Regions from separate parts of the Homo sapiens genome. Here all the other regions are linked to region 3. Evidence: promoter capture Hi-C in 16 types of primary human blood cells and fetal thymus (Javierre and others, 2016). All regions are on one chromosome and are shown on one strand. Each heading gives the region's core, a stretch centred on a gene start or on the middle of the fragment in contact. The rest is flanking DNA. Distances are from core to core; before and after follow the strand shown. Region 1 holds the start of GTSF1L (gametocyte specific factor 1 like). Region 2 overlaps ADA (adenosine deaminase). Region 3 holds the start of OSER1 (oxidative stress responsive serine rich 1). Region 4 holds the start of TTPAL (alpha tocopherol transfer protein like).

Region 1 (5,697 bases), core at 1,868-4,367, 480 kb after region 3:
GAGATGGAGACCATCCTGGCTAACACGGTGAAACCCCATCTCTACTAAAAATACAAAAAATTAGCCGGGCGTGGTGGCAGGCGCCTGTAGTCTCAGCTACTCGGGAGGCTGAGGCAGGAGAATGGCGTGAACCCAGGAGGCAGAGCTTGCAGTGAGCGGAGATCGCACCACGGAACTCCAGCCCGGGCGACAGTGCGAGACTCCGTCTCAAAAAAAAATTATTTTAATATATTTTTTGAGACAGGGTCTCACTCTGCTGCCCAGGCTGGAGTGCAGTAACACAATTTAGGCTCACTGCAGCCTCAACTTCCCAAGCGATCCTCCCACCTCATCCTCCCGAGTAGCTGGAACTAGAGGCACGCACCACCACAGCAGGCTAATTTTTGTATTTTTTGTAGAGATACGGTTTTGCCATGTTGCCCAGGCTGGTCTCGAACTGCTGGGCTCAAGCAATCCGCCCACCTCAGCCTCCCAAAGTGCTGGGATTATAGGAGTGAGCCACTGCACCCGACCATATTTCCTTTAATAGTGGGCTGTAGGCTTGAAGAAAATGGGCTCTGTGTTACATGCATGATATGGAAGGTACAGTTTACCAAGGACACTCAGCAGAGCAAACCAGGAGCTATCCCTAGGGTGAGTGGGTTGGGGTACAGGGAACACAACTTCTTGGCCTCATACTCCTCATAGGAGCCAGCTTGGTTTGAGGCACTAGAATTCCACTGGTCTGGGGTAAGAGCCAGATCTCAAGATCTCAAGAAGCCCCAGGAGAGCACTGAGTAAGCCATTGATCCCCCACTCTGAGCTAGGACTTTGGGTTTTCTTCCATGGGGAAGAATATGCTCCGTGTGTGTGGAGAAAAGAGAAATGAATGCTGGTGACGAGAAGGGCAGACTGGGGAAGCCCTCAGGACTTCCCAAAGTTCCTATTCTCCTCCTTCTGGGCATGTGGAAAGACCGTACCTCCTTGCTCTTTGAAGTTAGGTAGGACTTACTTTGAACCATGAAACAGTAGCGGAAGTGATGTTTATCATTTCCTGGTGGAAGCTCGCGCATGACTCCCCACATCCTCTTCCTTCTTCTAGAAGGAAGCAAGTGTTGCTATGGAGGCTCCATCAGCCTGGCTCCATTAACCACAAGGAGCAGATCCCCAATACCCCTCCCCAACCCAGAAACCTGCTTTAGACTTGAAAGTGACTCATAAGCCTTCGTTGTTTTAAGCTACTGAAGTTTTGGCACTGTACGTTATTGCAGCCTAACCTTGCCTATCCTGACTGGCACACCCAGAATAAATGGTGTAGTTATGAAAGATGCCTTTTTTTAGAATCCTTTGTCTAATCTTTTGTCTATACCTGGGTTCCCATTACAATTTCTTACTATGACATCAGTGAGTGTCATGTTGCTAAATTGTCTGCATGTCATATGATAGTAACAAGACATCCCACATGTATGATCAGTTGCAATTATGTAACAATGTAGACAAAGCCAATCACTTCAATTCTCAAAAAAGGCTGAACACCATAGCTAGGATGTGGAGAGATGGAAAAAGTGTCATTTACAATGACAAAAAAAAAAGAAAAAGAAAAAACCATAAAGCATCATAGATTAATTTTTTTTTAACGTGCAAAAAATAGAAAGAAAACTACAAAGCCTACCTGAAAAGACACCATCAATAGAGCTTAGTAAATACCAGGAAACACACACACACACATACACACACACACACTCACACACACACCTTCCCCAAGGTCACATGGCTGGTAAGTGGCAGGAGGTAGAATTTGAATACAGTCAGCTTCCTTAACCACCACCAAGAATAGGATGGGTGAGCTTTTTCTATAATGGGCCAGACAGAAAACATTAGAGGTTTCTAGGTCATCTGGATTCTGTTGCAACTACTCAAATCTAGCTCAAAAGCAGCCAATGGACAATATATAAACAAATGGGTGTGGCTGTGCTTCAATAAAACTTTATTTACAAAAGCAGATAGCCATCTGGATTTGAATCATGGGCCCATAGTTTGTTGACACATGATCTAGAATAACAAATCCTTGAAGATAGTCAAGGCTTTTGGGGGGAAAACTAATAACAAGCAGAGACTTGCTCTATCAGATATCAGCACATAAAGCTACAAAAATTATTTGGAATTGCATTATATTTATGTATCAATTTAGGATGACTATGTAATTTATGTAATTTAGTTTACAGAGAATATTCATTTATGATTTTGAGTCTTCCTATTCAGGAATATGGTATTTCTCTACTGTCACTCAGATCTTGAGAAACAATTTAACAGGGTGGGGGGTGGGAAGGAGCTCCAGGCCAATTTTTAGAAGAAATCCTACCTAACACCAGACATGTAAATAGAATGTCAGAGGACCAAAACCACTAACACCCTGAGATATGTGTCAATTGCGTCCATTCAGACTTTGGTCCAGTTCTGTGAGGGACAACGGCAGGGTCGACCTAAGATGGGGCGTTTTATAGGAAATGTTTCCCATGTTAAGCTGAACACCAAAAGGCTTCACCTTCTGCGATATATGAATAGATTTAAACCCTTCCCCCACACCCAAGGAGACTAGGCTGCTGTGGGCCTCAGCAGAGCAGAAGGGTAAAGAAAGACGGCCCTGAGAATCACATCCAAAAACCAGCCCTGGCAAAGCGCAGGGGCTCACACCTATCATCCCAGCACTTTGGGGGGCTGAGGCGGGTGGATCACCTGAGGTCAGGAGTTCAAGACCAGCCTGGCCAACATGGTGAAACCCGTCTCTACTAAAAATACAAAAAATTAGCCGGGCATGATGGCAGGTGCCTGTAATCCCAGCTACTCGGGAGCCTGAGGCAGGAGAATCACTTGAACCTGGGAGGCGGAGATTGCAGTGGGCCAAGATCGCACCACTGTACTCCAGCCTGGCAACAGAGCGAGACTCTGTCTCAAATAAAACAAAAACAAAAACAAAAAACAAATACGTACAGTTAAAAGACTTAAGTCACAACATACATCCATGAGCAATTTTAGATGGCAGCATTCCCAAAGCCATCCACCCCTCCCAAGCAGTGCACAATAGCCTCTTCCTGATGACTTAGGCTGCCCATTGTGACCACCGGTGACTGCAGCTTGACATCATAGTATATCCGTGAGTCAAGCGGCTGTGGGTTTTTGGCTCTTGCATCTGCTATAGTTCTGTCTCGGGTGCCATTTGCTAACTCTGTTCTCTGTGTAGCTGCTTTTGGCAGCTCCTCATCTCTCTTCTAATCCACCACTCACAGTCCTAGAGAACAGACCACAAGTTAAGACCGTCACCTACAGAATCCCAAGGGCCAAAACTGGGCAGAGGACAACTCCATCCTTCTTACAAAAGGGCTTCTCCACAAGAAGCATTTCCGTTAGACTCTAGCAGTGAGATACCCTGCTTCAAGAATTTCTCATGGAGCCAGAAGCCTTTGAAATTTGCCCTTATGATCCTCACCACCGAATCCCACTCAGCAGATTCCAGTACCACCTGGCATCGTGCAGGAGAAAGAACCCCAAGAAAGCCAAAAAGATGGCCACCTGCAAATACAACGCCTGCCACGTGGTCCCCATCAAAAATCTGGAGGAACATGAGGCTGTTTGTGTCAACAGGAGCGCTGTGGAAGAAGAGGACACCGAGAACCCTCTGAAAGTCAGTCCTCCTAGTTCAGAGCAGAACGATGACACCCAGCAGGTCTCACCCTGCCTTCCCAGCCCCGATATCTGGAATGTCGATGGCGCTAATTGCCAGCATGTGTTTGTCCTTAAGACTTTTTTTCCTCAAAAGGTTGTTTGTGAAAATGACACGAAAGAGTCAGCAAGAGAGACCAGTCCCCAGAAGATCCTCAGACCAGGACAGTAAACTGCCAGCTGAGGAAGGAGCACACGCCTCATCAATGCATGGAAGAACGTGCAATGCATCAGAATAAAAGACATGCAAAGTAAACTACCCTGGGCTACCTCTTTTTTTAACCTGGCAGATTGATAAATATCAAAAGGCTTAAAATACTCTGCTGGCAAAGGTAGGGCAAAATGGGCACTTTCATAACATTGGTGAGAATGTCAGTTGGTACAACCTCCACAGAGGGCAATTTGACAATAGCTATAAACATTATCAATGCATACAGGCTTTGATTGAGCAATTCCACTTCCAGGCTTCATTCTGTAAATATAATCACACATGTGGAAAATGAGCTAAGTACTAGCTTATTCACTGCAGCATTATTTGCAGCAGCAAAAGAGTTAGAAATGAGCCAGGTGTGTTGAATCACAGCTGTAGCCTGTTACTCTGGGAGCTGAGGCGAGAGGATCGCTTGAGTTCAGCCTGGGCAACATAGTGAGATCCTGTCTTAAGCAACAAAAAAAAAAGTCAAAAATGACCTAAATATCCATTAAAAGGGCCTGATTAAAAATAAGTTATACTGCAGCCATACAACAAAATATTATGCCGCCTTAAAAAAAGTGAGGAAGCTCTTTCTGTGCTGATATAGAAAGGTTGAGACACACTGTTGAGCTCAGAGGTCAGCAAACTGTTTCTGTAAAAGGCCAGATGGCAAATATCTTAGCCTTTGTCAGCCACACAGTCTGTGTTGCAACTACTCGGCCCTGCCACTGCAACACGAGAGCAGCCACATATAATATGTAAACAAATGAACAGAGGTTCCAATAAAATGCCTTACAGCCACAGGTGGCAGGCTGGACTTGACTGGTGGGCCATGGTTTGCCAACCCCCAGTTTAACTGATAAAAACCAAGTCCAGGCCGGGCCCGGTGGCTCATGCCTGTAATCCCAGCACTTTGGGAGCCGGAGGCGGGCCAATCACCTGAGGTGTGGAGTTCGAGGCCAGCCTGGCCAACATGGCAAAACCCCATCTCTACTAAAAATACAAAATTTAGCCGGGCGTGTGGTGGGCACCTGTAATCCCAGCTACTCAAGAGGCTGAGGCAGGAGAATAGCTTGAACCCGGGAGCAGAGGCTGCAGTTAGCCGAGATCACGCCATTGCAATCCAGCCTGGGTGACAGAGCGAGACTTTGTCTCAAAAAAAAAAAAGGAAAAAGAAAAGAAAAAACAAAAACAAGTCCAGAGCAGTCTATACAGTATGCCACCATTTGGGGAGAGTTGCGGGAGAAGACATGAATATGTATGTGCTTGTTTTTGCATAAAATTTCTCTTTAAGGATACTCTAGAATGGAGATCTGTCCACAAAGCCTGAAATTTTTCAACCTGTTGCCTAATAGAAAAATTTGCTTGCCTCTTCACTAGAAACTGATATTGTCTGCCTCCAGGGAAGACAAGAGAGAGCCCTTCTTTACTATTGACTCTTTAGAATCTTTTACATGGGAATATATATGAATATGTTATCTGGTCAAAAATTAAACTATATTTTTTTAAACAGCAGGTAGAAGACTTAAGTCCTTTGAAAGTTTTTCAGGAGGAAATCTTAACTGTTAAGTTTTTTTTTTGTTTTTTTGTTGAGACAGAGTCCTCGCTCTGTCGCCCAGGCTGGTGTGCAGTGGCGCAATCATAGCTCACTGTAGCCTCAACCTCTAAGGCTCAAGCAATCCTCTCGTCAAAGCCTAACAACTAGCTGGGACCACAGGCGTGCACCACCATAACTGGCTAGTTCTATTTTTTTGTAGAGATGGGGTCTCACTATGTTGCCTAGGCTCACTGCTTTTTTTTTTTTT
Region 2 (5,313 bases), core at 2,452-4,951, 430 kb before region 3:
CTTCTGTCTTATAAGGATACATGTGATTGCATCTAGGGCCCAACCAGATAATCCAGGATAAACTCTTCCTGTCAAGACATTTAATAATCACACTTTGCCATATAAGGTAATTTTTTTTTTTTTTTTGAGGTGGAGTTTTGCACTTTCACCCAGGCTGGAGTAAAGTGATTTAATCTCGGCTCACTGGAATCTCTGCCCCCAGGTTCAAGCAATTCTCCTGCCTCAGCCTCCTGAGTAGCTGGGATTATAGGTACCTGCCACCATGCCCAGCTAACTTTTGTATTTTTAGTAGACATGGGGTTTCACCATGTTGGCCAGGCTGGTCTCGAACTCCTGACCTCAGGTGATCCACCCGCCATAAGTTAATATTTTTTTTTTGAGAGGGAGTATTGCTCTGTTGCCCAGGCTGGAGTGCTAGTGGCTCAATCTCGGCTCACTGCAACCTCCGCCTCCCAGGTTCAAATGATTCTCCTACCTCAGTCTCCTGAGTAGCTGGGACTACAGGTGCATGCCACCATGCCTGGCTGATTTTTGTATTTTTAATAGAGAGGGGATTTCACCATGTTGGCCAGGCTGGTGTTGAACTCCTAACCTCAAGTGATCCACCCACCTCAGCCTCCCAAAGTGTTGGGATTACAGGCATGAACCACCACGCCCGACCCATATAAGGTAATATTTACAGGTTCTGGGGATTAGGATTAGCATGTAGACAGCTTTGTGGGGGCCACCATTCAGCCCACTATGCTAACCCTGTGAACCGTTGCTCGCTTCTCCTTGACATCTGACGGCCTGGCCTTCTGCATACCACACACCCTCCCACCTCTCTGGCCACAGTTCTGTAGGCTCAGCCTCCTCCGTAAGGCCATTAAGTGCTTGTGCTGGTCAAAGTTTCATCCTAGGCCTTTTCCTTACCTCCCTTGATATTTTCTCCCTAGGTGAGCTCCTTCAAGCCCACAGCTTCTGTGCTTACCCACACTCCTACCTACATTCCCAGCTTGGGCTTCTCAGGCCAGCTCTAGACTCTTGTATCCCACTGGGTTCTTCCACTTACCTTTGGATATCTCAAAGGCATCTCCAGTTGGCTGGGCACGATGGTTCACACCTGTAACCCCAGCACTTTGGGAGGCCGAGGTGGGCAGATCACTTGAGGTCAGGAGTTCAAGACCAGCCTGGCCAATATGGTGAAACCCCATCTCTACTAAAAATACAAAAATTAGCTGGGCATGGTGGTGGGTGCCTGTAGTCCCAACTACTCGGGAGGCTGAGGCAGGAGAATCGCTTGAACCCGGGAGGTGGAGGTTTCCGTGAGCTGAGCTGGAGCCACTGCACTCCAGCCTGGGCAACAGAGTGAAACTCCGTCTTAAAAAAACAAAAAACAAAAGGTGTCTCTAGTGTAACATAACTAAAACCAAACCAATCATGCCTCCCTCCCCCGCATCCTCCCTCCTGGAGGGAGCTCCAGGACTTGGTCTTCTCTTCCAGAGTTCTCTGTCTCAAACTGCGGGAATTGCTCCCCACCCAGGCCTAACCTGAAGTGTGAGCCTTGGCATCTCTTTCTATCCACCTGTTTTTCCTCTATGCACCTCACAACCCTGGTCCAAGCCACCGTCATCTTTCAAATGGCTGCAGTAGCCTCTAACTGGCCTTGGAGGAGCCATCCTCTTTCTCTAACCAGCTGCCAACCCTGCAATGGCCTCTGTGTGCTTTCCAGATAAAGCCTGACTCCTCGTGGCCCGCACAGCCCTGCCTGGGTGGTCCTATCCTGCAGCCTCTCCAGTACCATGAACCCTCCCTTCTCTGAACCTCTATTTAATCCATTTCATATACCCCGTTTTCTCCTGCCATAGGGCCTTGCACATGCTGTTCCTTCTGCCTGGAATTTTCTTCCTGCCTCCCTCCGCACCCCTGCCTTGTGTTGTGGGTTCCTCGCTATCCTCTAGCTTTTCGCTCAGGCTCATTGTTGGCCCTCTAGATGTATTCACTTCTCTTGTTTGTTACCCTCTGTCATAGGACTGTGTTCGTACTTCCCAAGGAGTCGTCTTGGTTTGTGACTGTACATTTTCCCATGTGACATTTGCTTAATGCCTCTCCCACTCTGGGGCCTGTACAAGCCCCAGGAACAGGACTTGGACCCTCCTGTTTAACTCTACAATCTAGCATCCAGCAGGAGCGCAGGCCTTCGTTGACTTTTATTTTATTCTTATTTTTTATTTTTGAGATGCAGTTTCGCTCTTGTCGCCCAGGCTGGAGTGCAGTGGCGTAATCTCGGCTCACTGCAGCCTCTGCCTCCCAGGTTCAGGTGATTCTCCTGTCTCAGCCTCCCAAGTAGCTGGGATTACAGGTGTGCGCCACCACGCCTGGCTAATTTTTTGCATTTTTAGTAGAGATGGGGTTTCACCATGTTGGCCAGGCTGGTCTCAAACTCCTGGCCTCAGGTGATCCACCCACCTCGGCCTCCCAAAGTGGCTGGATTACAGGCGTGAGCCCCCATGCCCAGCCTTCATTGACTTTTAGTTGACAACTATTTAGCATTTGCTATGTGCCAAGAACTCCCTGCCTACTAATGCAGTTAACCCTCATGAAGCCTAGAAGGAAGGACTGCCATTCTCCCCACTTAACAGATGAGGATGCCGAGGCACAGGAAGTGAAGTGACTTTCTCAGGGTCAAGCAGGGAGTGAGTGGAGGAGCCGAGATTCCAGCTCTAACCGCATGATGCTCTATACAGTGTGACTCCGGCTCTCTGGCTGGGCCCTCTCCATAGCCCTGTGAGGGTTAAGGATAGAAAACAGAGGCTCAGAGAGTTGAGGTCCCTTGCCTGAGGTCACACAGCTGGTTGGCCGTTCCCTGGGCTATAAGCTTCAGTATTCCCAATGCTGAGCATATTTTGAGAACCCGAGAAACAGACGTTTGGCTGGGTGGGAACTGAACTCATTTTGTCAGGGAATTCAACAACTAAGTTGGCCCTGAGACTGGGTGTGAAGACCGCTCTGTCCCCTGCCAGCTGGATGACCTCAGGAGAGATCTGATGACTCTGAGGTCCTGCTGATAGGACCTCTGGTGTCTCTGTTCCCTGCTGGCCTCCCCTGGGCCTGGGTTGGGTTTCCTCTGCAGGAGGCAGCTCATGTATGTGCTCCTAGACGCCCTTGGGCCAGCAGCTCCTTGGCTGTTCCTCCCTGAGCCAGGGCAGCCAACTTTCTTATCCAGCTCTCCATGCTCCCCACCCCAGCATGAGATGTCAGCTGAGAGTTTTCTGGATCTCCCCTAGCTAGGGGGAAAGCTTCCATCATTTGGAACAGGAACAGCAGGAACAGCAAAGTCCCTTTCCCCACCATCTCCCACTGCCTGCTGTGCTTCTCCTAACAGCTCATGGTAAACACCCTGACTGAGCGGCAGGGGCTGTTTCCTTTGGGCTATCCATGTCCACCTACACTGCCCTTTTTAATCCTTACAATTTTTCTTGGACACGGGGGCATAATATTCCATTGTTTTTCAGTTGAGGAAACTGAGGCTCAGAGAGGTCAAGTGTCTTGTCTGAGGTCACACAGCAGAACTGGGAGTCAAGCCAGATGGGCTGCCTCCAAGGATCCTACTCTTAAACTCTAGAGTACTAGAAAGATCTTCCGTTGCCTAATATTGATTCCTGATAGGCTATGCTTGAGTAGCATCTGCTTTTGAAAATGGAGCCTGGGTCGGTTGCGGTGGCACATACCTGTAATCCCAGCACTTTGGGAGGCTGAGGTGGGTGGACACCTGAGGTCAGGAGTTCGAGACTAGCCTGAGCAACATGGTGAAACCCTGTCTCTACTAAAAATACAAAAATTAACTGGGCGTGGTGGCACCTGCCTATAGTCCCAGCTACTCCGGAGGCTGAGGCACAAGAATTGCTTGAACCCAGGAGGTGGAGGTTGCAGTGAGAGGAGATCATGTCACTGCACTCCAGCCTGGGAGACAGAGCGAGACTCCATCCGTCTCAAAAAAAAGAAAACGAAAATGGATCCTGAATTTTGAAATATGCTGTGACTCTTCCCTAGTTTGGGACATCTGGGTCAATCCCTTTTGTTAAAGTAGTTTATTTAGTTGGCTGAGAGCGGGAGCTGCCTACGTGACCTGGAGCACAAGCTTTGGAATTGGGCTTGGGTTAGAATTCCGCCTCTGCCACTCACCAGCTGCGATTAAGAACAAAGATACTGGGTTGGGCTCCTGCCTCTATTACTTGCAATCTGTGTGGCCTTGGATGAGATATTTAACACCTCCGAACCTCAGTGTCCTCAATTGTGAAAGAGATCGAGATAACAGCTGAACCCACATCCCAGGAGCGGATTAAATGAGATAGTGCAGTACAGAGTTTACCGAAGTATATGGGGTCAGCAGCCAGCCAGTAAAATGGTGGCTAATGGTTATCATGATTAATGTTAACATTAAGCTCTGAAAGGTCCTTCGTGAACTCATAGGTATTTGTTCTCTCTCTCCCTTTCTCTCTCTCTTCCCCCTGCCCCCTTGCAGGTGGAACTGCATGTCCACCTAGACGGATCCATCAAGCCTGAAACCATCTTATACTATGGCAGGTAAGTCCATACAGAAGAGCCCTCTCTCCCTGGGATTTGAGTGGGGTCCCCAGCTCCACCCAGAGGCCCCTGGGGAATTCCAGGGTCACTGTTCCTTCCTGTCTCCCTGTGGGAATCAAGCCAGCTCCAGGCCAGAAGTGGGACTGTGAGGACATGGAGGCCTCAGCACTGAGCTGGAGACCCGCAGACCAACTCCTGAGCTTTCTGGGCCTCTGAGTCTTGTCCTCCTGGTGTCAGGTGAGCCAGGCCTGAGCCTGCTCTCCCCACCCACCCACATACGTGCATGAAGGTAGTTCCCAGGGCTGAATCCGTCTTTTTTTTTTTCTTTTGAGATAGAGTCTTGCTCTGTCGCCCAGGCTGGAGTGCAGTGGCATGATCTCGGCTCACTGCAACCTCCACCTCCTGGGTTCAAGTGATTCTCCTGCCTCAGCCTCCTGAGTAGCTGGGATTACAAGCACATGCCACCACATCCAGCTAATTTTTGTATTTTTAGCGGAGATGGGGTTTCACATGTTGGCCAGGCTGGTCTCGAACTCCTGACCTCAAGTGATCCACCCAGCTTGGCCTCCCACAGTGCTGGGATTACAGGCATGAGCCACTGTGCCTGGCTCCTGTCTTTTGACTTAACTGAGAGCCTATATATAGCAGGTGATGTGCTCACATGAGATGCCAGTACAATTTCTTGAGCATCTCCTAGAGCTGGGCTGGGCTTTATCAGCTCATTGAATTCCTCCACGCTTGGAAGAG
Region 3 (5,326 bases), core at 2,433-4,932:
GAAGGGGGTGCTGGGGAAGCCAAGGAAGACCCCCCTGGGGAGCTGATATGAGCAGAGACTTTGAATGACAAGATGAACTGTGAGTAAACAATGCTCCAGGAGGGGAAATACATACAAAAGACCTGAGAGGGAAATATGCCTGCTGGGTTCAAATATATGCAAAGAAAGAGTGGCTGGAACAGTCCTAGGCCCTGGGCAGCCAATTTCCTCAAACCCAGTGGTATTTTCCAGGTGAAAGCAGGTATCCCTGGTCTAGCTGGGTACATACAGGAGGTGAAGGTGGGGAGGCTAAGGAAAGCAGTGTAACTCAGCGGTCAGCAGGGTGCTATAGTCAGACTGCCTAGATTGGAATCCCCGTTCTACCACTTACAAACTATGTAACCTTGGACAAGTTATCTAACTATTCTGAGCCTAGTTTCCTCAGCTGTAAAACAGACATCATAGAAGTACATTTCACAAATTGGTTATGAAGATTACATGAGCTAACATCTTGTAAATCAAGACAAATAATCATTATCACTATCTTCTATCCCAAAGTCATTTTAATTTAATTTTATTTTTTTTTTTGAGACAAGGTCTTGCTCTGTAGCCCAGGCTGGAGTGCCGTGGCATGATCTCAGCTCACTGCAACCTCCACCTCCTGGGTTCAAGGGCTTCTCATGCCTCAGCCTCCAAGTAGCTAGGATTACAGGTGTGTGCCCACCACTCCCAGCTAATTTTTGTATATTTATTTATTTATTTTTCAGTAGAGATGGGGTTTCACCATGTTAGCCAGGCTGGTCTCGAACTCTTGACTTCAGGTGATCCACCTGCCTCAGCCTCCCAAAGTGTTGGGATTACAGGCGTGAGCCACCACGCCTGGCCTACCCTAAGTCATTTAAAAAAGTATATCGAGGTAAGAAATAAATTAATTTGAGTCTTAAAACATAAGAACAGAATATTTTCCAGATTACCAACTGGTAGGATGGCAGCCACATGGTTAGGCAAATAATTTTCTTTATTACTTTGGACTTGGCTTCTCCAAAGTTATTTTTTAAGAGAAACTATTATCTTCCTATATAAATTGTTCTTGCAGTATAAATTCATGGAATTAAGTCTCTCTTACTAAAGCATGTACAAGACACTTGTAGCAAGAAAGAAGCACTGTTAGAGGAATTTTACATCTACCACAGCTTTTTAATTAAATGGCATTACCATGTGCATTAATACAAAGTTGATTTCTTCAATATAAAGTCCACACACAAATTCAGGTTTTTTTCCCATGGTTAAAAAGACTTGGAATTGCTGGTATAGGACACCGATCTGGCTTTTTGTTCACTCAGATCCATCCCATTTTGTAGCTTTTCTATCTCTTTCCAAGTCATGATGTATCACACCGTGAGCCAGTCCTATGTATAATGACTTAAAACTTCAGGCCACGTCAGGTGTGTGAGTTAACAGGCTTCAGCATTCACAAGAGGTTCCCACCTTCCAAGTACTCCCCGAGTAATGAGTCACATTCTTGGAAAGCATCTAACTCTTTATGATGGAGATGTGCTTACATAAAATGAAATACTGTAACTTTTTAGTTTTTGGTATTTAATATAATTAGGGATGGAAAGCAGGTAAAATGAGAATTCACCAAAACTGTATTGAGCATCTACTAATCCCCAGGAAGTGTGCTAAGCCCTGGGAATTCAATCACGATCCAGACAATTCTTTCCCCTCAAGGATATATGAGATTTTTTTTTTTTTTTTGAGACAGTTTTGCTCTGTTGGCCCAGGCTGGAGTGCAGTGGCGCAATCTCGGCTCACTGCAACCTCCGCCTCCCGGCTTCAGAGATTCTCCTGCCTCAGCCTCCCGGGTAGCTGGGATTATAGGTGCATGCGCCACCATGCCCAGCCAATTTTTCATATTTTTAGTAGAGAAAGGGTTTCGCCATGTTGGCCAGGCTGGTCTCAAACTCCTGACCTCAAGTGATCCACCCGCCTCGGCCTCCCAAAGTGCTGGGATTATAGGCATGAGCTACCGTGCCAGGCCTTCTCAAGGATATATGAGATTTTATCTTAAGTTATATTTTGAAGTGGCAGCTTAAAAAGACATGTTTGGTTTTGATACATTTCACTTGGCAAGGTCTGAGAAAATAAATACATCATATTTCCCGCTTTTTCTTGTCCAAGAGATGTTGAGAAGGGCAGTTTAAATCCTGACTTACTAGCACTGTGAGACAGGACAAAGGCAGCTAGAACAAGTTATCTGATCTCTAACATAATCTAATGCTATCTAACTAGCATCATTAGGTTACAATGAACAGTTTTCTTTCAACCGGTCAGTTACTGAGCCTCTGGTATGAACGACGAGAATTTAAAATGTTTTATCCAGGGCCAACATCATGCTTCATGTTTAACAACGTTATACAATAAATTGTTAGATTTCATTTACAGACATAGGCCAGGCATTCCAAAGCCTGGCTGTAGTTAAGCTGGACACAGTTAAACCATCTTCGGCAGCCTATCTAGTTGACTACAACTAAGGTATTGGGGAATGACGGTGGATGGGGCCAGTTTTGGTTCAGGGAAAAACCCTCACTCTAGGGGTGGGCCACAATCAACGCCATCCAACTCAATTGCGCAAAATCATCTGTTCTCACGAAGCTTTGAGCAGTGCAGACGTGGAGCTGGAGATTGGCAGGCGAGGAGAGGCACAGCTAGATCAGCAGAACCAGTCCTGGTGATGGAGCGGGTGGCAGCTGTTGCACAGATCACCTTTTCCCGCCTACCATCTGAGCAACATTCAGAATCAGAAAAATGTAAAGAATCCTAAAATTCATCTCCTTTGGTGAACTGCCTAAATCTTTTTGCAAAATTTGGTGTGTAGGTGCATTTCTTTGGCAAGAGGATCTACAGTTCTCACCAGATTCTCAAAGGAGTCTACGCCTGAAAACACGAGATTCACCGATAAGGTTCAACTTCCTCACTTACTAGATGGAAAACTGAGAGGCCCAAAGGAGGAAAAGCAGTTGCCTCAAGACAAACAGCAGAGATATCAAAACCGAAGGCATTTCAATTCAATTCTAATTCTGGCTTCACACTATTGACCCTGGCCACGTCCAATACCTCTTCACTTCTCTGCAGGACCTAAAAGATCACCAGGAGGCGAGGGCTGGTGTCCGAGTCCCGGAGAGGTCGCAGGCAGTCCAGATTCTAGCATCACAGAAACTCTGGCCAAGCGCTCAGCCGGGGATTGTCTGCCATAAAGACCCCCGCACCCTGTCCTCGCCCCCGCCCCGTGGAATTCCTCTGCATAGGTGACTCCACGTAGAGGACCGAGCGCAAGGAGATCCCGGGGCGGTGGAGGCAGAGGACTACTGTGAAGAATGACGCCTACTCACTCACCTAACAGAGAGGAGGAAGCAGGCACGCCCCAAAAGCGGGTCGGGAGCAAATCCACGCCACTGGGAGGAGGCAAACCGAAGAATAACAGGAAATTACGTAAGGCGCACGTGCTTCTGAGGGGGGCGGGTGCGGGGCGTTGGAGAGGCGCGGCCGCCGCCCTGCGTCTGCGCAGTCGTCGGCTGCCGCGCTGCCGAGTCACTGGGGTGGGAGGAGCATAAGCAGGGGGAGGGGTGCATGCCGGAGTGCGCAGGCGCAACGCGACTCCCGAGGCGCGGGCCGCCCCCTTGGCTGGTTTGGATCCGGGTCAGTCGGGTGCCGAGATTTGGGAGAGACGCTCTGAACTGACTGCCCCGCATCACCGGAGCGTCCCAGCTGCGAGGAGGTAAGTGCCCTGACGTGACGGGGAGGGGCCGCAGCACTGCGTCTCAGCTTCCACTGCCGGTCTGGCCGCGGGCGGTTTTCCCCGGGCCCGCCCGCCTTGGGTCGCGTCGTCTCCCGACGCCTCCTGCCTGGGCCGGGCCTGGGCCTCTCCGCGCCCCCTTATCTGCCGCGGCCTGTGCCTGCTGGAGCTCCGAGCTCCACGCTCTCTCCCCTTCCCGCCTTCCCGTCCTCCCGCGGTCCCCCGCCCCGTCTCGCTCCTCCGCCGTCTCCCGCCCAGCGGCAGCTTCCCCTTTTCGCCCTCCTTGGCCGCCCTTTGCCCCTTCCAGTCCTTTCTCTCTCGCCTCGGAGCCCCATTCTCTTTGGCTACCTCTTCGGCCCCACTCCTTTCTTCTCCCGCATCCCTTGTGCCTCGCTCCGACTCCAGCCTCTCGTTCTGACCCCAGGAATCTCCCGAGGAGCGCAACTTCACAGCTGGAGACCCCGGGCGGGCAGTGCCCCTGGACAGCTCCCTGCTTGGCGTTGTCCCCACACTCCAAGCCCCGTCCTACCCCTCTGGGTTCTGACTAGGAATTTTCCTCCGTTCATGTTTAACCGCGACAGGCACAGACTCTGGGTGAAAAGAAAGAACTTTGTGCTTTGGCTGCAGCGCTGCGAGTATAAAGGGATGAGTGGGTTGCACGGAGAGGTGTGAATGTGCTTTTTGTCCTGGGGGCCGATTGTTTCCTCCCGGTCTAGTTTGCCTCTTAGAGTTGCTGGGTTTGGTTTTCTTCCCCATACTCTACGCTTTCTGGTGGTCTGGGAGTTTCGAAATCTTTAATGTTGTGATGACAACGCTTACCCGCGCATCCCTTCTTGATCGTTCTTAGGTCTTCTCAGGGGCCTGGAAGTGTAGACCTAGGCTTGGGATTCAAGGAGGTCTTGGTTAAAACGGCAAGATGTAAATAAGATTGTGACGCATCCATTTTGTTGAAAGAAAAAACCAGGAATTTGGCCTTTTGATGGAGGAACTTAGAAGAACTTTGTAATTTTTGTAAGGTTGTGGAAAATCCGAGGCAAAGTTAAATTGCCTGGTGTGATTTGACTTTAACTTCGAATAGGCTTTTTAAAGTTTCATCTCTTTGGAGATTGTTCAACTTCACGAGTTCACTGCAGTGAAAACGCCAAGACTGTCTCCCACAAATTTAATATTAATGAAGAAAGGCAAGCCAATTATATCTGTTGTCCGGAGTTAGTTGTACAGCCCTTTCTTTGAATGGGGATCTGGGGATGCAGAGGAGCATAATGAGCCTTTTATAATTACAAACATGCTCTTCTCTAGCTCTTAAGGTTATGCCTAACGCTCATTTGCTCTTGGCTAAAATAACTGAGAAAAAAAGTGAGTAGTAAAAAAATGCTGGAAGTCTGAAAATGGTTTAGACAGAACTTCATTCCTGAAGTTTTAGTCTGTAGCCAGATTTTAATTCTGGCCTGTTTTGGTTTTTAGATGATAGATCTTTTAGTGTGTCAACAGGAATGTAAAGTTTGTATTAACATCTAGGGTGATCACCTGCCATGCTATTAAGTCAGCATG
Region 4 (5,411 bases), core at 2,183-4,682, 270 kb before region 3:
AATATCTTCAGAATGTAAACCTACATGCCCTTTGGGTCAGCAATTCCATTTCTAGGACATATACTTGTATATATATGCATAATATGCACATGGCCTTCACAAGTATTGATTATAATGATAAAAGATTGGAAACATCTTAACTGCCTATCAGGGGAGACTGGTTAAGTAATATTACCATATTAATGGGGTACTAGTCAGTCATGAAAAAGAATTAGGGGGCCGGGCGCGGTGGCTCACGCCTGTAATCCCAGCATTTTGGGAGGCCGAGGCAGGCGACTCATGAGGTCAGGCGATCGAGACCATCCTCGCTAACGCGGTGAAACCCCATCTCTACTAAAAATACAAAAAATTAGCCGGGCGTGGTGGCAGGTGCCTGTAGTCCCAGCTACTAGGGAGGCTGAGGCAGGAGAATGGCGTGAACCCGGGAGGCAGAGCTTGCAGTGAGCCGAGATCATGACTGCACTCCCACCTGGGTGACAGAGCAAGACTCCCTCTCAAAACAAACAAACAAAAAAAGCGAAAAGTAGGCAGATCTTTATGAATTGACATATTAAAAAAGCAAGTTGCAGAATAGTGTACAGAAAATCACGTTTTTAAACTATACACATACACTTGTGAATGCACACAAAACTTCTGGAAAGAGATATAAGAAACTTACCAATGGTTATCTCTTGGAACAGAACTGGACAAGTGAAGATTTAAGATGAGAAAGAGGATTTTTACTATACTGTTTGAATTTTTTACTACACACCCATGTAACTTATCGTGGCAGTCGGGAATATGTGCCGGTCAGATCTGCTGGGAAAACGTAATTGATAAAGGGCCCCAGTGGCTGTCCCTCTAGATCCACTATCCAGGGGAAGCCAGAACTTTCCACAGCCCTTCTGTGGCCTCACTGCTCCTAGCCAATGATTTAGTGAGACATAGGACTCCTCTAACAGGCAGCGTTTGCTTGAGGGCCTGGCCAAACCTTTGTTGGGACTGCCCTGCAGTCAGAGACTTGCTGCCCAAACCTCCTTCACAGGAGCTGATCTGCATCACTGCCAGTGGCTCTTCCTGACTTCTCCAGCTCCCTTCCCAGGTGCTGTCCTTCGCAAGGGTTGCCTCTACATTTCTAGCACGTCTAACCTCATCCTAGTGTCTGCTTCTTAGAGGACCTGAACTCATGCACTTTTTTGTTTAAGAGAGAGACAGGGTCTTGCTCTGTCACCCAGGCTGAAGTGCAGTGGCGCAATCATAGCTCTCTGCAACCTCGAACTCCTAAGTTCAAGCAATCCTCCTGCCTCAGCCTCCCAGGTAGCTGGGACTATAGGCACACACCACGCCTGGCTAATTTTTAAATTTTTTCTTGGGCTGTGTGTGGTGGCTTATGCCTGTAATCCCAACACTTTGGTAGGCTGAAGTGGATGGATCACCTGAGGTCAGGAGTTCGAGACCAGCCTGGCCAACATGGTGAAACCCTGTCTCTACTAAAAATACAAAAATTAGCCAGGCATGGTGGTGCGGGCCTGTAGTGCCAGCTACTTGGGAGGTTGAAGCAGGATAATCGCTTGAAACCAGGAAGCGGAGGTTGCAGTGAGCCGAGATCATGTCACTGCACTCCAGCTTGGGCGACAGGGCGAGACGCTATCTCAGATAAATAAATAAATAAATAAATAAATAGATAGATAGATAAATAAATAAAAATATATTTTAAAAGGACCAATCTGCTGTCTTGAGAATGGACTCTAAGGGAGTGAGGACTGAAGCAGACCATTTAGAGGCTATTGCAATAATCCAGCTGAGAGATGCTGGTGGCCTGGAGTAGGTAGCCTTCACTGACCCCCAGCCAGGTTAGGTGCCTCCCCCGCACTTCTCCCACCCTGTTGCAATTGTCTGTTGGCAATTTGTGAGCAACATCCAAGTTTGTCTTGTTCATCACCTGAAACCCAGCGCCTAACATGGTGTTAGACACATAATCTGCACTCCATAAATATTTGTTGAATGACTTTAGTCTGGTTGGCACAGGTATGCTAAGTGAGGAATGGAACAACTATGGCTTTGTTTCTATGGAAGTAACCAAGAGATGCCTGCAATCCCATCAAACATCAGTGTTCACAAGGTACAAGCCTCACCTCAAAGCCCCTCTCCAGCCTCATTTTCCATCGCACCCCACCTTGATGCACATTAAATGCCAGTCAAAACAAACTAATAACCCATCATCCTTGGAATAACTCGTGCACTTCTGATACACTCTGCCTGGAATTTCCTCTTCTAATTTGTTCCTAACTTGACAGCTCAGGCTCAGCTGCCATGTCACCACCTCAGTGAATCCTTCCCAAACTCCCTGAGGGTGATTCCCTCCAGTTTTCCACAGAACTGGGTTCCTATTTCTTTTTTAGAAATTACAGTCCAATGCTATGGGCATTTATCTAGAGTCAGTTTCACCACGCACTCATTTATCAAATAATTACCGATCACCTACCATATATGTCAGGCACTGTGCTCACAGGCACTGGGAACACAGACGCAAACAATACAATTCCTTGCCTAATAAAGCTTACATTATAGTGGAATGAAGAGAATGCATACTTGAGCATTTTACCATGTATCAAGCATTGCTAAGCCCTTTACCCATTTCCTCATTTAATCTTCACGTTATTTGGTGAGAGCGCTATTACTGTTGCCATTTTACAAAGGAGGACAAAAAGGACTGTCCCCTAGAATCTAAGTTCCACGAGGGCAGAGGGCTTGTCTGCCATGTCCACTGCCACCCCCAGTGCCGGGCACATGGCAGTGGTCTGTACACATCAGCGGAGGATATAGGTTAAGCGATTCGCCCAAGGGGGCACACCCGGTGAGGCAGAGCAAGGATGCGTCTAGCCCCACCCTGGGCTTCTAATCTGTACCCTCCACCTGGAGCTTCATGTTGACTCTCCAGGGACTCAGCAGTGCCGAGCGCTCAGCAGGACTCAGTCACAGGCTGGTGAATGAGCTGACAGGCGGACATATGAGTGAGATGCAGACACCATTGGTAACGGTGAAGCCAAAGATCTCCCCCACCTGGAGCCCATCCTTTCTGGAGCATCACTTTCCTTTCCACCCCTTCCTCTCAACAAGGAGAGGTCAGGAAGCCATCTCTCCTAGAGCCCCCGAGACCCCATATCCCGTGGACAACCTTCCGAGGCCCCCACTTCCGGCTGTCACCCCCTCCCCAGGTGTCCCCATTTCCTGGGGTCTCTCGCTCCTCTGGTCCCCACTTCCGGTTATCCTTCCCTCTCAGGGGTCCCTCTCCTCAGCTCCCAGGGCACACGGATGGGCTCGCGGGCACTCACCGGCCCGACTACGGGCGGAGCGCGGGTCAATCGGCGGCGGGAGCCTCGTCCGGCAGCGCACGCAGAACCGACCCGCACTCCCTGCCCGGCCTGCCCGGCCTCTCGCGCCGGAAGTGACGATCCAGGGCGTGGGAGGCGGGGCTCCGCCTAGGAGCGCGCATGTGCGACGCCTCCCCGCGGCGTTGGTGTTCAGTCCCCACCTGGCTGCCGGAGCTCCGAGCTGCGGACCTGGAGTGGCTGGGAGGAGCTGGGGCACCAGCCGCTTGTCAAACCCGGCTTATAGATGGGGAAACTGAGGCTCAGAGAAGGAAGGAAAGAAGCTGCCATTTTCCAAGAACATGCTAACATGTACCTGTTGTTTAACATCCATGATCTCATTAACTCCTCATATTTATGCAATTCCCCTATTTCAGGAAAGGGAAACTGGCAATCAAGGCAGTAAAGGGCTTCAAACCCGGACCTCAGGATTAGCATTCTAGACTTCCCCCCACTATGGCTGCTATCAGGACTAGCTGCTCCAAAAAGGGAGACTCCAAACCAGGGGACATCTGTCTGTCATTAACTGAGTGACCTGGAGCAAGTCCCCATTCCTTCTTGTGCTTCCGTTTCCTTACCTGAAACCTGATTCTTGCTCTGGAGCCTGATTCAATAATTACTTTTTTCCTGCTTTGGGGTTCATTACGTTCCCTCCAGACAAAGGCTTTACTAACTCCCACCCCAGTCCATTAAGATCCGCCCGCAAGTATTTTGTGCAACTGCAACTTTGAGGCAAATCTCCTAGGTCCCTCTGAGGCAGAACCTCTGGTGGTCCAGGAGAACTCTGAGCCTAAAGAAACGACCTTAAACAGTCTTTTCATTTTCCTACCCCAGGGGCAAGAGGAGTCCCAAGAAGATGGGAAGTGACCCATGAGGGCCACAAGAACGTGGCAGTTTCTGCCAGATTGAGGGGCAGGGGGCAGCAGTATGGAGGCGACCTGGGAATCATGAGTTTTGACTCCTGCTCTCAGTTTCATCACTTCTAAGATTGACAGACAAAATATATAACATTCACTACAGTTTGAATTTCAGATAAACATTTAAGCATGTTCCTTTCCAAACACACACACACATACACACAGATAAGTGTGTCCTATGCAACATTTGGGACACATTTATACTTTAAAAATTGTTGTTTATAGGAAATTCAAATATGACTACTGGGCATCCTGGATTTTGTTTTGTTTGCTAAATCTATGTATTATTTTCCTGTTACTGTTACAAGGAATTACTGCAAACTTCATGGATTGAAACAACACAGATATATTCTCTTGCAGTTCTCTAGGTCAAAAGTCTAAAATCAAGGTGTTGGCAAGGCTGCATTCTTTTGGGGATTTGGAGGAAGCATCAGTTCCTTTCCTTTTACAGTTTGTAGAGGCCACCTGCATTCCTTAGCTTATGGCCCCTTCTTCAAATCACCTCAACCTCTGGCTTCTGTTGTCACCTCTACTACTGACTGATCCTCCTGCTTCCCTCTTCTTATAAGGACTCTTGGGATTACATTGGGCTCAGCCAGATAATCCAGGATAATCTTACCATCTCAAGATCCTTACATTAATCACATCTGTGAGATCTTTTAAAACGTAAGGTAAGGCCGGGTGCAGTGGCTCACGCCTGGAATCCCAGCACTTTGGGAGGCTGAAGCAGGTGGATCACTTGAGATCAGGAGTATGATGAGACCACCCCAGCCAACATGGTGAAACCCTGTCTCTACTAAAAATACAAAAATTAGTTGGGCGTGGTGGCACACGCCTGTAATCCGAGGCCCCCACTTCCGGCTGTCACACCCAACTATGCGGGAGCCTGAGGCAGGAGAATCACTTGAACCCAGGAGGCAGAGGTTGCAGTGAGCCGAGATCATGCCACTGCCCTCCAGCCTGGGCGACAGAGCGAGACTCTGTCTCAAAAAGAAAACCCCCCAAAACAGCCGGATGTGGTGGCTCATGCCTATAATCTCAGCACTTTGAGAAGCCAAGGCAGGTGGATCACCTGAGTTCAGGAGTTCGAGACCAGCCTGGCCAACCTGGTGAAACCCTGTCTCTACTAAAAATACAAAAATTA

The links. Contacts are between HindIII fragments. The CHiCAGO score rates a contact against its expected background, and 5 or more counts as called.
Region 1: a contact is called between the fragment with the promoter of GTSF1L here and the fragment with the promoter of OSER1 in region 3, in 2 of 17 cell types (non-activated CD4 T cells and naive CD8 T cells). The highest score is 8.4, in non-activated CD4 T cells.
Region 2: a fragment that was not itself captured here is called in contact with the fragment with the promoter of OSER1 in region 3 in 1 of 17 cell types (fetal thymus); the score reaches 5.6 in fetal thymus.
Region 4: a contact is called between the fragment with the promoter of TTPAL here and the fragment with the promoter of OSER1 in region 3, in 15 of 17 cell types (megakaryocytes, erythroblasts, fetal thymus and 12 more). The highest score is 19.1, in megakaryocytes.

Annotation. Positions count from the first base shown.
Region 1 is chr20:43,724,422-43,730,118 of GRCh38, reverse strand. GTSF1L (gametocyte specific factor 1 like) reads left to right here and starts at 3,117. Exons shown (of 1, transcript NM_176791.4): 1 at 3,117-3,955. The coding sequence starts at 3,425. The coding sequence ends at 3,871. LOC101927200 (a long non-coding RNA gene) reads right to left here and starts at 1,200. Exons shown (of 4, transcript XR_936741.3): 1 at 992-1,200. The HindIII fragment of the contact is 9,111 bases long and covers 1-5,697 here.
Region 2 is chr20:44,635,480-44,640,792 of GRCh38, reverse strand. It overlaps ADA (adenosine deaminase), which reads left to right. Exons shown (of 12, transcript NM_000022.4): 2 at 4,505-4,566. Among named protein-coding and RNA genes, the nearest start is that of ADA, 14 kb to the left of the region's middle. RefSeq lists enhancers at 4,119-5,313, 1-5,313. The HindIII fragment of the contact is 842 bases long and covers 3,281-4,122 here.
Region 3 is chr20:44,209,127-44,214,452 of GRCh38, reverse strand. OSER1 (oxidative stress responsive serine rich 1) reads left to right here and starts at 3,682. Exons shown (of 4, transcript NM_016470.8): 1 at 3,682-3,757. OSER1-DT (OSER1 divergent transcript) reads right to left here and starts at 3,493. Exons shown (of 3, transcript NR_038339.2): 1 at 3,376-3,493. RefSeq lists silencers at 3,280-3,728, 3,924-3,993 and an enhancer at 3,653-4,272. The HindIII fragment of the contact is 3,146 bases long and covers 2,637-5,326 here.
Region 4 is chr20:44,473,895-44,479,305 of GRCh38, reverse strand. It overlaps TTPAL (alpha tocopherol transfer protein like), which reads right to left and starts at 3,432. Exons shown (of 5, transcript NM_001039199.3): 1 at 3,315-3,432. RefSeq lists a silencer at 3,327-3,456 and an enhancer at 3,547-3,636. The HindIII fragment of the contact is 9,114 bases long and covers 2,541-5,411 here.